Regions from separate parts of the Homo sapiens genome. Here region 1 is linked to region 2. Evidence: promoter capture Hi-C in human tissues and cell types (Jung and others, 2019). All regions are on one chromosome and are shown on one strand. Each heading gives the region's core, a stretch centred on a gene start or on the middle of the fragment in contact. The rest is flanking DNA. Distances are from core to core; before and after follow the strand shown. Region 1 holds the start of C5orf15 (chromosome 5 open reading frame 15). Region 2 holds the start of GDF9 (growth differentiation factor 9).

The links. The method cuts DNA at HindIII sites, captures the fragments that hold promoters and counts their contacts. A contact is called where the count stands out against the background at its distance.
Region 1: the fragment with the promoter of C5orf15 here is called in contact with the fragment with the promoter of GDF9 in region 2 in 1 of the 25 tissues and cell types used here (hippocampus).

The regions. Positions count from the first base shown.
Region 1 is chr5:133,967,241-133,969,940 of GRCh38, reverse strand. C5orf15 (chromosome 5 open reading frame 15) reads left to right here and starts at 1,316. Exons shown (of 3, transcript NM_020199.3): 1 at 1,316-1,495. The coding sequence starts at 1,357. It overlaps LOC105379183 (a long non-coding RNA gene), which reads right to left and starts at 1,252. Exons shown (of 2, transcript NR_134247.1): 1 at 1,149-1,252; 2 at 1-190. RefSeq lists enhancers at 1,173-1,392, 2,023-2,122. The HindIII fragment of the contact is 9,621 bases long and covers 202-2,700 here.
Region 2 is chr5:132,864,871-132,867,920 of GRCh38, reverse strand. It overlaps GDF9 (growth differentiation factor 9), which reads left to right and starts at 1,452. Exons shown (of 2, transcript NM_005260.7): 1 at 1,452-3,050. UQCRQ (ubiquinol-cytochrome c reductase complex III subunit VII) reads right to left here and starts at 1,279. Exons shown (of 3, transcript NM_014402.5): 1 at 1,234-1,279; 2 at 886-1,052; 3 at 1-433. The coding sequence starts at 1,039. The coding sequence ends at 339. RefSeq lists enhancers at 941-1,441, 1,442-1,942, 801-2,000. The HindIII fragment of the contact is 5,371 bases long and covers 1-3,050 here.

The DNA.
Region 1 (2,700 bases), core at 67-2,566, 1.1 Mb before region 2:
TCTGAGCTGTCACCAGGGTGAGATAAAAGCTTAGGGGAAACCAGATTCAGGAGTAGAACACAGGCCCTTTAGAGAGACAGCTCAGCTGTGTCTCTGGGGGATAACAGCAATCTTCGCAGGGAATCATAGAGACCAGAATGGTGAAGCTGTGGGCACAATAAATGTCTTGCTTAACGTCACATTGATTTTCCTGAAATTGATCAAATGGAACTTTTATGAATTGAAGCCTGTATCTGTTTATTAAGGAGACATTTACAGAACGTACACACAGAGCAAAGTATGGCGCCAGGGCCCTAGGTGAACTTCTTGGAAGTTTGTAAGTTTGCATTTTTATACACTGGGGATTTCAAGTAACAAAATTTAAAAAGAGAAGCTTATTTTAGGAAATCTGAAAGTTATTTTCAATGGCAGCCCCTCACCTCTACTTCCTAGCTACCTTCCTTTCTTTTCCTCCATAATTTTTTTTTTTTTTTTGAGACGGAGTCTGTGGCCCAGGCTAGAGTGCAGTGGCATCTCGGCTCCCTGCAGCCTCCACCTCCCGGGTTACAGCGATTCTCCTACCTCAGCCTCCCGAGTAGCTGCGATTACAGGCACGCGCCACCACGCCTGGCTAATTTTTGTATTTTTAGTAGAGTCGGGGTTTCTCCATGTTGGCCAGGCTGGTCTCCAACTCCGGACCTCAGGTGATCTGCCCTCCTCGGCCTCCCAAAGTGCTGGGAGCCACTGCACTAGGGCCGGTCCATAATATCTTTATCATCTTGTATAGTGTGTATTTTACACCATATTCGCCCTCACAAGAAAATAAACTGCCAAGGCGGGCGGGGGGGTGGGGGGTTCTTTTTGTTCACTGCTGTATCTTAAATAGGGAGAGGTGCTAAATCTTTGTTGAAAAAAAATAAATGACTGTCGGGAAAGATTTTTAAAAATTACTTATAATCCCATCACCGAAATAGGACTACTTAACATTTGTGTTTCTTTCGCCTTTGAGAGAGGAAGAGCAGTTACTTCGCTTTCGTGATCAGTCTGTTCTACAGCTGGATCTTCCTTTTTAAAATGGCTAAAAACGCTATTTTTGGCTGTATAGTACCCAATCATGCAGGCGGCAGGGAGGGGCTCGCTTTGGCCCTCTTCAGCACGTCACACCCTACCTTTAATCCGCAGCCAACTGTGTGGCGGTCCCCACTTTCGCCTAGCGGCAACTCCCTCCTCCCTGCAATCCTTCCTTCTTATTCCGGTTTCCAGAGCACGTCTCCAGGCTTCGACGTCACCACGCTGGGACGTATGTGCCGAGGGCCGCGGCGTCTGACCTCATGGCGTAGAGCCTAGCAACAGCGCAGGCTCCCAGCCGAGTCCGTTATGGCCGCTGCCGTCCCGAAGAGGATGAGGGGGCCAGCACAAGCGAAACTGCTGCCCGGGTCGGCCATCCAAGCCCTTGTGGGGTTGGCGCGGCCGCTGGTCTTGGCGCTCCTGCTTGTGTCCGCCGCTCTATCCAGTGGTAAAGGGGGGCGGCAGTGTGGGCTTAGGAAGGCTAGGAGGGCTCGGGCGCAGGGCAGGAGACAGGCCGGGCCAGGGAAAGGGCGCTTCCAAGTGTCAGGAGCAGACGGCGGTGTCTGGTTGGGTCAGGGTCTCCGCGGGCCTGAGGACGGAGGGTATGGTGTCTGAAGGGGTCCAAGGTGGTAGGGTCTCCAAGGGGCCTGAGAAGCGGGGTCCCTGAGAGATGCAGGAACCCAGGGAGCAGGCAGCAGGGTGTGTAGATGGGCGGGGAGGGAGGAGTGGTGTTAGCGCCTAGAGATCGTTGAAGAATGGGCTGCCGCAAGGAATGGCGGTGGTGGGGTCTCCAAAATTTCTTGGATCGGAAAGTTAGGAGACTCTGGAAGAGAGGGTGGCGACAGGGGCTGAGGAGGTGGCCGGGGCTGGGGGTGTGGTGTCTGGAAAGGGTCCTGAGTTTGGGGGACTCAGGAATCTTGCAGGACCAAGGAAAGGTGGGGGTTTTCCAGAATGGGAGAGGTCAGTGGTAAAGACCGAGGCGGGCAGGGGCAGTAATCCAGTGACTGGACTGAACCAATGGAATATTTCCGAGAGGGAAAGTGAAAGGGAAAGAGCTGTCTTAGGGTACTGGTGCATATTTGAAGACTGGGAGGTTCTGGTGTTTGATAAAGATTCAGAGTACTGGGGCGTTGGGCCCCTGAAGGCTTGGGAGGCAGAGAGGAGTTTGGAGACAAGGGAGATCATGATTCCTCTTCCCTGTGTTCCGAGTTAACCAGGATAACCCTGCCTCGTTTTAATGCATCTGTAGGATTTGATTGATAAAATATTTCATTTCTTGCAAATGTTGCATGGTGAAATCAAGAGATTGAAGGCTTTTATTGAGAAATTAGGAAATCTGTAAACCAGTGCCTGATACTTGGTGGGAAAAATCCACTATTAAGAACTTGTAAGGATTAAACGGTATTTTGTTTAGTAGTCCCATTTTTCTTTCAGGCCAAGACACAGTCCTGCGTTTCTCCCTAAATTTGAATTTTCAGCTGCAAAACAGTGTGACCTGGTATAGTGTTTTCTTTCTTGCCAGCAGGGCCTGTCCAGCCCTACATTCCTCTGCGACAGTACTGTGGGTACATACTTATGTTTCCTCAGCAACATTTCAGTGTTGCTAACTGGACGCCCTCCCAGAAGTCTTTGCAGTCCCTGAGGAAGGACTGC
Region 2 (3,050 bases), core at 203-2,702:
AGAGGGCCAAGAACCAGCACTCGCCATAGCCCATGTCACCCACAAATGGTTAGATGCAGGAGTACCTGCAGCTACTTTCTTGTAGATAATGGAACAAAGGGGGAGCCCTGCTCTTTCACCAAAACCCGAGACCAGGCAAAACTTCAAGACTCATGCTGAGGAGGGGCGCTTCATGAACTTGAATATTAGTGGTCACACAGGATTCTACTCACAAAAATGTAATATCACAACAGTGCAGACCATAGGAAGTTTATTGTGTCTTTGAGACACTACAATGCAGACTCCTCTTCCAGAGAAAGGTCTTTCAGAGACAGGGAACCGTCATCCGGATGCGTTGCTCATTTGTCATTTTCATAGGCAGCTGGATTCTTCCTCTTGGATCTCTCGAACTCTTCAGTCCCCCATGTGTAGATAAGATAAAACACTACAAACTCTTTAAAAATTAAGAGAGTAAACAGAGAGCACACATATAAGACATATAGAAGAAAAAAAAAGGTCTCAGTCCTCTTGTCTTCTTTAAAGCATACACTTCAGTAGTTCTTAGCATATCCAAGGCCATGCAACTATCATCACTATCTGCTGCACGTTTAACACAAAGCATTTCACCACTGGTAAGAACTAAATAAAGGTGACCTCAGAGGAACATGCTGGAATCACCCGAGTGACCTTGGGCCAGTCATTTCAGTTCTGTAGCTCAGTTTTCCCCGTGTAAGATGGGGAGGATAATATGACCAGCTTAAGGGCGGTCAGGAATATTCAATGAGAAAGGTGTGTACGGCAAGTTACAGAGCGCCTGCCCGGCCGCCAGCGCTCAGAGGGGAGGCGCAGTGACTGCTGCTGCTGCTGGGGTCCAGCCTCCCGCTCCCGCGGGCCCAAGGCACTCACGCGGCACCACGCGAAAGAAAGACTCCCGAATGCGGCGCAGAACATTGGGGATTCCTTTAGTGAAGACGTGCGGATAGGCGCGCTGCTCGAACGGTGACAAGCTGTAGCTGATCACATGCCGCATCCGCGTCAGATTCCCAAACTCGCGGCCCATTGTGGCGGCGGCCCTGCAGGACCGAGGGTGGACAGGCGCTTGGCTCGCTTTCGCGAAGCGCCGCAGTCCCCGCGGGGGTCCATCCCCAACCCCAGACTCCTGCCCCTGCACTCCTTATCCTTTCCCAGCCCAGCGGGGCGCCCCTAGCCTCCCAGGGTCCACGAACACTGCACAACCAGACCCCACTCACGCACAGGGCTCAGCTCGCCCTCCACAGTCACCGATCCGGTTGACTCGTTCGTCATTTCCGGCAAGGTTGGAAGCCGCTCTTGGAGGTCGTGAGGTAACTTCCGGGAGATACCATTTTCCTACTGTCTCTAAGGGATGACGCCTTTGTCCCAGAAAGAAGTGGGCTGACTGGGTGACCCGTAGGTGGGAGGTGCCTTGGAGGCCCTGCCCGGGCCGGTGGGGTGGAGCCTAGCGGAGGACGTCGGGGATTGAACTGACTTTGGGGGACAGTGGACAGGCGGAGGCGCTCACACTTCTCCTCAGCCCTCGGCTTTTCTGTGGAATCCCAGTCAGGAAGCGGCCGAATGCGGGAGGCGGGGGAGGGAACAAAAAGGTGACGAGGAAGGGGCCTGCCGACCTCCGGGGCAGCGCTGGCCAGGAGCTTGGGGCCTGCGAGTCTTCCCAGCTGTAGACAGAGCGCCTCTGAGCCCCGAGGCCGGGCCGCCCCACAGCAGAGGAGCACGAGGTTTCATTTGGCCTTGGCCAGTAGCTCAAAGGGGGCTTCGTTATTTTCAGGCCATGAGCGACCCCAGCACCAAAATCAGGGACACACATCGAAGGCTTCTCTTGGACTCTGTTTTAGAGTCCCCTGGCAGGCTGTTAACGTTCCCAAGAGATAATACAAACGTTTCGTCAGTTTCAGCCACAAAAATAATCAAATAATCGTCAATTGATGAATGCTGAGGCCGCCTCGACAGCAGCCAGCGTCCTCCCCAGATGGTTTGCGTGGGGTGGGGGGAATCACGATGCCCCAGTTCTTTCTTCTCCCCACGTGAGAAGCAAGGAAAGTCGGGTGAGAGGCCTTATTATGTTTTCCCTGAAGTGCATTCTGCTTGACGATGCTGTTGTCAATGTACAGCTCGCCCTGAGGTGTCTTGTCAGTGTTTTGTTAATGGAATTGCTGGCCATATTTTATCTAGGACTAAGCTCTCATTCAACAGTTGGCTGTGTTTTATAACACTACTTACGGACCACGGAGGCTCGGCAGGCAGTCAACTTGTATTTTGCAGACATACCTTAGTTTTCTCATGTAGGTACTGCACAAACTGGCTTCGTATCTTGCACTATGAGTGTAGGCTGACTCTTCCAGCATAGTCTCCTTCGGGGTGGCGCTGAATATCCCCTCATTTCAGCTTTTCATGGTGCTCCTTTGCCTCATTTTTTTAAACCATAATGTCTAGCCTGGTCTCAGCTCCAAGGCAAGAACAGAAATACAGGTAAGGACAGAAATATTGTGGCAAATTCTACCACCATTTGGATGAATAATAATAAAACGTTCATTTATTTTATAGCATCTGCAAACATCCCAAAACCTTTCAACCAAAATATGTATAGATGAGTGTGCAGACCAAAGTAAGGACATCAGTATGTTACATTTAAAAATAAGTCAAGGTTAAAGGCGGTGTCCTCTTTTAAGAACATCGCAAATACAATTCCAGTACTCCAAGTACGTATTCTGTACCCAGCCACCTGGGAGGACTGAGAGACCTAATGGTTTTCTGCTTTCTGGAACTTCTATGCCAATTGTGACTTTCTCACCCAAATTTGTAAATTCGCAAATTAACATGCAGCGAATAATTACAATTGTAAACACCTGGAAGTGGAAAAGGCCGTGAGGATAAATTGAGAGGAAGAGTAAACCTAATACCATAAGTTGCATACCAGCAGATCTGAGTATCGTCATGAATAATTGGTTAGCTTTTCCACATGCCTTAGAAGTTTCAGCAAGCACCTAGCGAACATCTTAATCCAAATTTCTCAAAAAATGAGAGATTTTATTTAA